Regions from separate parts of the Homo sapiens genome. Here region 2 is linked to region 1. Evidence: promoter capture Hi-C in human tissues and cell types (Jung and others, 2019). All regions are on one chromosome and are shown on one strand. Each heading gives the region's core, a stretch centred on a gene start or on the middle of the fragment in contact. The rest is flanking DNA. Distances are from core to core; before and after follow the strand shown. Region 1 overlaps NEK4 (NIMA related kinase 4). Region 2 holds the start of SFMBT1 (Scm like with four mbt domains 1).

Region 1 (5,491 bases), core at 1,311-3,810:
TAACAATAAACAATCTGAGAAGCAAATTACAAGAACAATTCAATTTACAATAGTATCAAAAATAATAAAATAATTAGGAATTAACCAAAAGGCGAAAGAAGGACTTACATAGTGAAATCTACAAAATGGTGCTGAAAGAAATTTAAAGAAGACATAAATAAATGGAAACACATCCCATGTTCATGGATTGAAAGACTTAACATTGTTCTTTCTTTTTTTCTCTTTTTACATTTGGGCATCTCCTTGAGAAAAGCTTAATATTGTCAATATATTAATATTACCCAGAGCAATCTACAGATTCAATCTAATCCCTATCAAAATCCCAATGACATTCTTTGGAAAAATAGAAAAATCCATCCTAAAATTCAGTGGAATCTCAAGGGATCCCAAATAGCCAAAACAATCTTGAAAAAGAAGAATAGAGATGGAGGACTCATGCCTCATGATTTTAAAACATACCACAAAACCACATTATCAAAACAGTGTAGTATTAGTATAAAAACAGACATTAGACATAGAAACCAATGGAACAGAATGGGGAACCCAGAAATAAACTTTCACATATGTGGTCGAATGATTTTTGACAAAGATGCCAAGATCATTTAATGAGGAAAGGACAGTTTTTTCAACAAATAGTGCTGAAAAAGCTAGATATCCATATACAGAATAATGAAGTCAGACCTTTACCTAACACCATATATAAAAATTAACTCAAAATGAACAAAAAACCTAAATGTAAGACCTAAAACTATAAAACTCTCAGAAGAAGACATAAGGCAAAGGCTTCACAACATTGGATTTGCCAACGATTTTCTGGATAGGACACCAAAGGCACAGGCAACACAAGAAAAAGACACACTGGATTTCACAAAAATTAAAAATTTTGTGCATCAAAAGATACTATCAACAGAGTAAAAAGGTAACCCACAAAATGAGAGAAAATATTTGCAAATCATATATGTGATAAGGAATTGACATCCTGAATATATGGAGAACTCCTAAAATCCAACAGCAAAAAATGAACGACCCAACTCAAAAATGGGCAAAGGATTTGAATAGACGCTCCTCCCAAAAAGATAGCAAACGGCCAATAAGCACACAAAAAATGCTCAATATAACTAATCACTAAGGAAATGCAAATCAAAACTACAATGAGATACCACCTCATGCCCATTAGGATGGCTATTACTAAAAAATCCCAGAAAATAACAAGTACTGGTGAGAATGTAGAGAAATTGGAACCTTTGTGTACTGCTGATAGGAATGTAAAATGATACAGAAGTTGTGGAAAACAGTACCACAGGTCCTCAAAAAGTTAGAATTACCATGTAGTCAGCAGTTCCACTTCTGGTTATATACCCAACAAAAGAGAAATCAGGGTCTTAGCTGGGAGCAGAGGCTCACGCCTGTAATTCTAGCACTTTGGGAGGCCAAGGCGGGTGGATTACCTGAGGTCAGGAGTTTGAGACCAGCCTGGCCAACATGGTGAAATCCCATCTCTACTAAAAATACAAAAATTAGCTGGGCATGATGGCACATGCCTGTAATCCCAGCTACTTGGGAGGCTGAGGCAGGAGAATCGCTTGAACCTGGGAGGTGGAGGTTACAGTGAGCCACGATTGTGCCACTGCGCTCCAACCTGGGTAACAGTGAGACTCCGTCTCAAAAAAAAAAAAAAAAAGAAAAAAGAAATCAGGGTCTCAAAGAGATAAGTGTACATTCATGTTCATAGCAGCGTTATTCACACTAGCAAAAAAGGTGGAAACAACACAAATGTACATCTGCAGATGAACCAGATAAACAAAACGTGGGATATACATGCAACAGAATACTATTCAGCATTAAAAAGGAAGGTAATTCTGACATATGTCACAACATGGATGAACCTTGAGGATATTATGTGAAACGAAATAAGGCAGTCATGAAAGACAAATAATGCAAGATCTCCTTATCTGAGGTACTTACACTAGTCAAAACCATGGAGACAGAAAGTAGAATGGTGGGCCAGGCACAGTGGCTCACACCTGTAATCTCAGCATTTTGGGAGGCCAAGGTGGGTGGATTGCCTGAGGTCAGGAGTTCAAGACCAGTCTGGCCAACGTGGTGAAACCCTGTCTCTACTAAAAATACAAAAAAAATTAGCCAGATGTTGTGGCGTGTACCTGTAATCCCAGCTATTCAGGGGGCTGAGGCAGGGGAATTGCTTGAACCAGGGAGGTGGAGGTTGCAGTGAGCCGAGATCATGCCACTGCACTCCAGCCTGGGTGACACAGCAAGACACCATCTCAAAAAAAAAAAAAAAAAAAAAAAAAGAAAGAAAGTAGAATGGTAGAACAGTGGTTGCCAGGGACTGGGGTAGTAGGGAATGGGGAGATACTGTTTAATGGTAACAGAGTTCAGTTTTACAATATGAGAGTTATGAAGATGAGGGGTGATGGCTGCATAACATTATAGATGTATTTAACACCACTAAATTGTACACTTACAAATGGTTAAAATAGTAAATTTTACATTATGTGTACTTTATCATAATGAAAAAATTAAAACTAAAAATTCGATCGACAACCTAAATATAAGAGCTAAAACTATAAAACTGTTAGAAGAAACTATGGCATAAACCTTCAAGACGTTGGATTTGGCAAGGGATTCTTAGCTATGACAACAAAATAAAAAAATAGATAAACTGGACTTCATCAAAATTAGAAGCTTTTGTGAAAAGGACATTATCAAGAAAGTGAAAAAACAAAAGAAATTTTTAAAAACAAAAAAAAAAATTTTAACTAAAAAAGGAAAGAAAAGACAACCTATACAATGGAGAAAATACTTGCAAGTTGTCTATCTGACAAGGGACTAGTATCTGGAACACAGATCGAGAACTCCTACAACTCAACAACAAAAAGACAAAAACACAATTTAAAACTGGGCAGGGGCTGGGTGATGTGGCTCATACCTGTAATATCAGCACTTTGGGAGGAAAACGCAGAAGAACTGTTCAAGACCAGCCTGAGCAACATAGTGAGACCCACCTCTACAAAAATAATCATAATAATTAGCCAGGTATGGTGGCGTGCACCTGTAGACACAGCTAATCGGAAGGCTGAGGTAGGAGGATCCCTTGAGTCAAGGAGTTCAGAGGCTGTAGTGAGCTATGATGATGCCACTATACTCCAGCCTACGTAACAGAGCAAGATCCTCTCTTAAAAAAAGAAAAAAGAAAAAAAAAAAAAAAGCCTGGGCACAGTGGCTCATGCCTGTAATTCCAGCACTTTGTTTGGGAAGCCAAGGTGGGAGGACCTCCTGAGCCCAGGAGTTTGAGACCAGCCTGGGCAACATAGTAAGACATTGTCTCTACAAATAAAAAAATTAGCCAGGCATGGTGGCATGCTGTGGTCCCAGCTACTCAGGAGGCTGAGGTGGGAGGATCACTTGATCCAGAGAGGTGGAGGCTAGATTGAGCCGTGATCGCAGCACTGCACTCCAGCCTAGGCAACAGAGCAAGACCCTGTATCAAAAAAAAAAAAGCAAAAGCTTTAGCAGATATTTCTCCAAAGAAGACATACAAATGGCCAACAAGCATGTGAAAAGATGCTGTATGTCATTAATCGTTAGGGAAATACAAATCAAAAATACAATAGGATACCACTTTACACCCACTAGGATGGCTAGAATCAAAAAATCAGAAAATAATTAGTGCCGGCAAAGATGTGGAGAAACTGGAACTCTTGTGCACTGCTGATGGGAATGTCAAATGGTGCAGCCACTGTAGAAAACAGTGCAACAGTTCCTCAAAAAGTCAAACCAAAAAAAAAGTCAAACCAAAAATTACCATTTGACTCAGCAATTCCACTGCTAGGTATGTACCCAAAAGAACGGAAAACAGGTACTCAACTACTTGCACACTTATGTTCATAGCAATAGCCAAAAGGTGAAAAAAACCCAGATGTCTACTAATGGATGAATGGATAAACAGTGGTATATCCACATAATGGTAGCCAGACCTAAAAAGAAATGAAGTATTCATACATGCTACATGGATGAACCTTGAAAATATGCTATGTGGAAGACACCAGAAACAAAAGGATATATTTAATGATTCTATTTACATGAAATATCCAGGACAGGTAACTTCATAGAGACAGGAAACACACTGGTGGTTGCCAGAGGCTGGGTGAAGGACAAAATGGGAGTGACTGCTTAATGAGGAAGAGATTTCCTTTGGGGTGATGAAAATGTTTTGGAACTACATAGAAGTGACGGTTGCACTACACTGTGAATGTACTGGCCACATTTAATTGATCACTTTATTTATTTATTTTATTTTATTTATTTTTATTTTTATTTTTGAGACAGTGTCTCATTCTGTCACCCAGGCTGGAGTGCAGTAGTGCAGTCTTGGCTCACTGCAACCTCCACCTCCCAGGTTCAAGCGATTCTCCTCCCTCAGCCTCCTGAGTAGCTATGACTACAGGTACATGCCACCACAGCCAGCTAATTTTTGTATTTTTAGTAGAGATGAGGGTTCACCATGTTGGCCAGGCTGGTCTTGAACTCCTGACCTCAGGTGATCTGCCAGCCTCGGCCTCCCAGAGTGCTGGGATTGCAGGCATGAGCCACCGCGCTCAGCCTTAACTGTTTACTTTAAAATGGTTAATTTTGTTATATAAATTTCACCTAAAAAATTCTTAAAGTTATTACAGCACTGACTTTGTGAACAATTTGACAGCCCAATTTGGATAAAGCTAAATCAATCACCTTAACCAGTATTCTTTCTTTACAGTAAGGAATTAATTGTACAACAGAATCTCTAGTAAAGCATAATCATTTCACACAAAATAATTTGCTTAGATGGCCCATTTTTCTAAGTGCAGTTTCTAAAACACATACCCTTTAAAAAGAAACGTACCATTATATATGTCTGGGAGCCCTCAGAAGAGAGTGGTTGGGGGTGGATTACTTCATGATTTGATTCTGCCTCTCCAGAAACCACTGTAGCAAAAGGCTTGGATTGAGAGTCACCATTTTTAATGTTATTTTTGGAGGTTTTTCTTTATAAAGAAGAAAAGAAAGAGTTATTATCAATATACTGAAGATTAAGGGTTTTTAGGTATATGTGGGAGTGTGTGTATACAATGAATTCCCTTACAGAACTGCACCATTTATAGAGAATAGTTTTCTAAAAATCTAAGGGGCATCCTACAAAACACCTCACCAGTAGTCTTTGAAACAATCAAGGTCATAAAAAATAAACAAAGTGAGAAACAATCACAGACCCCTGATTAGATGTACTATATCCTGGATTGGATCCTGGAACAGAAAAGAGACATTAGAGAAAAAAACTGGTGAAAGCCAAAGAAAGTCTGGAATTTAGTCAATAGTAATATTTTTCTTTCTTTTTTTAAAAAATTGAGACAGAGTTTCACTCTGTCATCCAGGCTAGAGTGTAGTGGCGTGATCTCAGCTCACTGCAACCTCCGCTGCCCAGGTTCAAGTG
Region 2 (5,491 bases), core at 1,020-3,519, 290 kb after region 1:
TCATGGCCAACACGGCCATAACTCCAAGTTTACATACAAGCTATCCTCAGTTTGTTAGTATTGCCCCTTTAACCCTCAAAAGGGTCCTGTTTTGAGGCAAAACTCATCTGTGGTGACAGAAGTCAGAATTGTGGTTGCCTTGGGGAGGGGGAATGTGTTTACTGAATGGAAAGGATACAAGGCCTGAAAATGTTCCATATCTTGATCTGAGTGTGGTTATCAGGGCATATACATATATAAAAAGTCATTGAATTGTACCCTTAAGATCTTTCGGTAGGTTATACATACCTCCATAAAAATACATTGTTAAAAATCTATTCAAATAATCATATAAAACCATTCTGGATCTAGCTACCAAGATGTTTTTTCCAAATGAATTTTAATAAAGACACACATTGCGAGCACTTTTATGTAGTACCTCTCAAAATATACACTGTGATTTCTAAGAATCTTTCAGTTAAGAAAGCCACCGAATTTTCGAACTGAAAGCACCCCCAAACATCATCTGTTTATCTTAATGTTGCAAATAAGGAAAATCAAAGCTACAATGGGTAAGAAATGTGCCCAAGATAAGGCAGTTAGTCAATGACAACGGTAATAACAGAACTGTTTCCTGATCTCTGGCCGTTTCTACCAGGCCGTAACTTTTCTGACATCGCAAACAAATCTTAACTCCGAATCTACCTACGGCCTAATTCAACAAATGCCTCAAAACGCTAGTCAACAGGCCTCAAAGTGTACACATGAAGACACATCTTCCTTCATCCTCTCGCCAGTTGACAAATTAATGATTACACGTTCAGGCATTTTACCCAGATGCAATAAAATTAAGAATGACATCTTAGAAAATGTGGTTCAAGAGAAGACATACGCAGGGATTGACAAAATCCATCTTACTTCCTTTCGAATCTCTTTGATGGTTACTTGGTTCTCAAACACAGATCACTGCTAACAGGACTCAAAAACACCACTTGGGACCATCAACCAGTGCTGCTTCGGGCGACCCGCTGGGAACACCCCCACCTGACCCAAGCGTCCACCACTCCTTGAGCACAAGCTCTGGGGGTGACCTGTGCCTGCCGGCTTAGTTTTAGACCCTACGGGAACAGCTGACATCTTGTGAAAAACTTAGCATAACGTACATCCTTTCCGCGGGAATTTATTTCTGTTCGCACAAGGCGTTTCTGCTCCGCACAGAGCAGGCCTTGCTTCCCAGGACGCCGCTCGCCCCTCCACAGCCTCCTTTTCAGCGTCCAAAATCGGACTTTAGGAACAGAAATCGAAACGGTCGCGGACCTCCCGAGCGGCAGGTCGGGGCGCTGCCGGGTCGGCGCGGGGTCCAGCGGCGGTGCCCGGCGGGCCGCGGCGCGGGAGAGGCCCGCTCACTTCACAACGGCGGCCCGGAGCCACCGGTTGCGGCGGCCACTAGACGCTCCGCCACCGCGCAGCGACCGCCCGGGCCCTCCGAAGTTCCGACCGGCCGCGCGCCCGGCCCCAGCTGCGGGTTCGCGCCCCGCCCGGAGCGAGCCCGGGGGGCGGGTCCGCGGGGGCTCGGCGGGCGGAGCGCGGGGCGCGCGCGGGGAGGGGCGCGCGGCGGGCCCGGCGCGCCGGGGAACTTGGGCGCCCGCCACTGCCGCCGCCCGGCCACTTTCCTTTCACGCCTCCCGCGGGCTGACGCGCGCCGCGCTGCCTGCCAGGGGCTGACGGCCGCCGCCGCTCTCCGCCGCGGCGAGGCGCCCAGGCGCGCCCCTGCAGCCGGCCGGCCGGCGCGCGGGACCGCGGGGCCGCGCGCGGGCGCCGCGCTCCCCCCGCCCCGCCCCCGCCCCCAACGTGCCGCCGCCGCCGCCCGTTGGCGCCTCAGCCCGCGCGCCCGCCGGCGCCCGGCGGTTTCCCGTTGGCAAAGTTGCGCGGCCGCTTCGAAGGGGACGCCGTACGGTCCCCCGCCCCGGCGCCGCCGCCGCCCCTCCAGGCCGCCGCGCGGGAAGGCCCAGCCGGTGGCCCCGCTTTTTTACCTGCCCGGAGTTTTCGCGCGCGCGCTCGCTCGATCGCTCGCTTTTCCCCCTCTCGCGCTCGTTTTCTTTCTTTCTTTCCGTCTTTTCGCTCCCCCGCGCGGAAGCTTTTTCCTCCCGTGCTGCCCGCGCTCGCCCGCTCGCGCCCTCCTTCCTGCTGGGTTCGGCGGAGCGGGGCGGCCGGCAGCTCTCCCCGCCCCCCTCCACCCGCGCTCCGGCGGAGGCGGCGGCGGCGCTCCGCGCTCCGACTCATTCCAATATGGCACGGACGCAGGGCGCATGCGCCCGCGCCCCCCCACCCCCAGCTCCGCGGTCCTCCAGGCAGCCTGCGCCCCTCGCGCCGCGCCCGTGGAGCTCCCGGGCCCGGCTGCCCCGCTCCCGCCCCAGCGCCATCCCTCCTGGCTGGGGCCGCGCGGGAGGCAAGGACTCCGCGGGCTGGTGTGCCGGGGGTCCGGCGCCGCGGGCCACCCACGCCCCCAGCCAGCAACTCGGCGCGGACGGCCCCGAGGCCGTGGCGCAGGACACGCGGCGGCGCCTCGGGCCCCCGACGGCGCTGTGGCCCCGAGCGGAACGGCCCGGAAGAGGAGACGCGTCCCCGGGAACCCAGTGCCCGCCCTGGCCCAGCCCCGATCCAGCCTGCGCCTCACCTCGGGTTGTAGACAGAGCGGCGGGGATCCCAGAGGGGTTCGCGGGTCGGACCTGGAGTACCGGCCCGGCGAAGCGCGCCGCTGTCGCCCGCACGTGACTGGCTCGGACAAGATGGCATGAGCGGAGAAGCGGCCGGATCCCAGATGCGCGCGTGCCGCCGCCGCGGGCACTGCGCCCGTTTGCCTGCCCCTCGTCGGGGATCGGGCGCTCCCTCTGAGACCTGAAAGGGCACCCAAGTGCCCCCTGTCTGCGAAGTCCGGCGCGGGCCCTTCGGCGCCCCCGATGTCTCTAGGCTTCCGCAGGAGGCGCCCTGTAAATCTTGAGTCTTCCTGCAGCGAGGGGGCACAGGACAGCTGCGAATTGGGACGAACGAGCCCAGAGCCCCGGGAAGGATCAGAACCTCGAAGGCGGCTTCAAGTCGGCCCCGCAGCCCGAGGTGACCGTGGGCGGTTACGTTGCCCGAGCTCGCCCCCTCCTCCTGAGCGCAGGTGCCCGTGGGACATACACCCGCCCACCTGCTCCGGAAAGTTCCCTCCAGAAGGGAGTTCCCGCGCCACCGAGACCCGGGAGCTCCCGATCAGACTCCCAGGCCGTGAAAGGCGTTATCGGACAGGGCCCAGAGGCGCCCCCACAGCAAGAAGAAAGTCTGGGGTTCTCACCGTGTGCCAGGTGCGAGCTCAAGCCACCTCCCTCAACCGCTCTGAGAAATATCCCACTTCACAAACTTGCTCAAAGTCACGCTGCTGGCTGGATTTGAATCCAGATTTTTTTTAGCACCACTGAAAAAACAATATGACAACCGGAGAAAGAAAAATCTAAAAAGAATACAGTAATCCATATTGTTACAAAGAAATGCAACTTTTCACGACATGAAACATATATATACTGTGTATAGTTGCAACCACACTTTTTTTGTTACTACTTTCACTACCATTTTTATTTGTTCACGATTCATTTTTAAGGTGTGCAGGTGTCCTTAACTATTCACTCAGCCCCCTAATGTTTTTGGTTCTTTACGGTTGTTTGCTAACGTATCCTTGAATTCTGCACTTGGGACAAATACCTGGGAGTGGAAAGGCTCCCAGGTAGAAGGCTATGAATGGCCAAGTGGTCTTGGCTTACAGCGTCATATTTTTCCCAAGAGCTGCCCCAATTATTCTACCGCCTCCAAGGAACAAGTGTAAGGAGTTTAACACACTTATAAACATTGAGTGCCATTTCCCCCCTACTTTAATAGTCTATTGCTAGTTCAAGGTTACTTAGCATTTCTTAGGTGACACAACATTCAAAAATGAATGTTTTTCCATGCATTTACTATATGCATTCCCTCTCCTGTGAATAATCTATTCATATCCATCTTCTGGGGACTTGAACCTCTTCTAACTTTGAACAAGCATTTTTTTATGTTACAGATATTACTTCTTTGTCGTCATTGATGCAAATATTTTCTAGCCTGTTGTTCTTTCTTGTTTTATTCTAATGTTCAGTGTGTCATTCTAATGTTTTAATTGCTTCAGTGCTGACAAAGTGAGCTTTCTGCTGCCCATCTGATAGTCTTTTTTCTGCTAGTTTTGTACAATTTCATTTCATATTTCATTCTCTGATGACTATCCCGATTTTATTTTGGCTTATTTATTTGGAGTAAAATATGGACATAACTCACTACCACTGTCATCGGTTGTTATTAATTCTGCAGTTACCATTTATTAAATAATTATTGACCAGACGTGGTGACTTACACCTGTAGTCCTAGCATTTTGGGAGGTTGAGGCAGGAGGATCACTTCAGGCCAGGAGTTTTAGGCTGCAGTGAGCCGTGATTGTGCCAGTGCACTCCACCTGGGTGACAGAGCAAGACTCCATCTCAAAAAAAAAAAAAAAGGCCGGGCGCCATGGCTCACGCCTATAATCCCAGCACTTTGGGAGGCCGAGACGGGTAGATCACGAGGTCAGGAGATTGAGACCATCCTGGCTAACACAGTGAAACCCCGTCTCTACTAAAAATACAAAAAAATTAGCCAGGCATGGTGGCGGGCGCCTGTAGTCCCAGCTACTCCGGAGGCTGAGGCAGGAGAATGGCGTGAATCTGGGAGGCCGAGCTTGCAGTGAGCTGAGATCGCGCCACTGCACTCCAGCCTGGGCGACAAAGCGAGACTCCAACTCAAAAAAAAAAAAAATTCCTTTGTTTAGTAAAATCTACTTTTACGCTAGACTTTCTATTTTGATTAATATATTTCTGAATTCTCCATTTCCTTCCTTAGACCTCAGTTTGAGCAAATACCATATGAATCTAAATATTGGTTCTTTGGAATAGGTTCTAACATATGAAAAGGCTTGATTCCCTCTCATGCCCTTATGAGGTCTTCTTTTTTCAGATTATCAGTTGATATCCACACTGGTTTATGTGTCTCTACACATCCTAGGATAATCATATAAGGGTTAAGAGGACTGGCTTTGAGGACGGACCATCCAGGTTCAACAACCAGCCCTGTGACCTTGGCAACTTATCTATCCCCTCTGGGCCTTCAGGTCTTGGTCTGTAAAATTAGGATAAGAGTAACAGCTGCCTCTGGCCTGGCGCAGTGGCTCACGCCTGTAATCCCAGCACTTTGGGAGGCCGAGGTGGGCAGATTACGAGGTCAGGAGATCGAGCCCATCCTGGCTAACATGGTGAAACTCTGTCTCTACTAAAAATACAAAAAAATTAGCCAGGTGTAGTGGTGGGCGCTTGTAGTCCCAGCTACTCGGGAGGCTGAGGCAGGAGAATGGCGTGAACCCGGGAGACGGAGCTTGCAGTGAGCCAAGATCGTGCCACTGCACTCCAGCCTGGGTGAC

What was found. Contacts are between HindIII fragments. The study calls those that stand out against the background at their distance.
Region 2: the fragment with the promoter of SFMBT1 here is called in contact with a fragment that was not itself captured in region 1 in 1 of the 25 tissues and cell types used here (hippocampus).

Annotation. Positions count from the first base shown.
Region 1 is chr3:52,755,892-52,761,382 of GRCh38, forward strand. It overlaps NEK4 (NIMA related kinase 4), which reads right to left. Exons shown (of 16, transcript NM_003157.6): 6 at 4,904-5,045. Among named protein-coding and RNA genes, the nearest start is that of NEK4, 12 kb to the right of the region's middle. The HindIII fragment of the contact is 5,152 bases long and covers 1-5,136 here.
Region 2 is chr3:53,043,804-53,049,294 of GRCh38, forward strand. SFMBT1 (Scm like with four mbt domains 1) reads right to left here and starts at 2,270. Exons shown (of 21, transcript NM_016329.4): 1 at 2,013-2,270. RefSeq lists silencers at 1,309-1,598, 1,959-2,018, 2,119-2,438, 2,489-2,598 and enhancers at 2,586-3,087, 3,088-3,587. The HindIII fragment of the contact is 17,124 bases long and covers 877-5,491 here.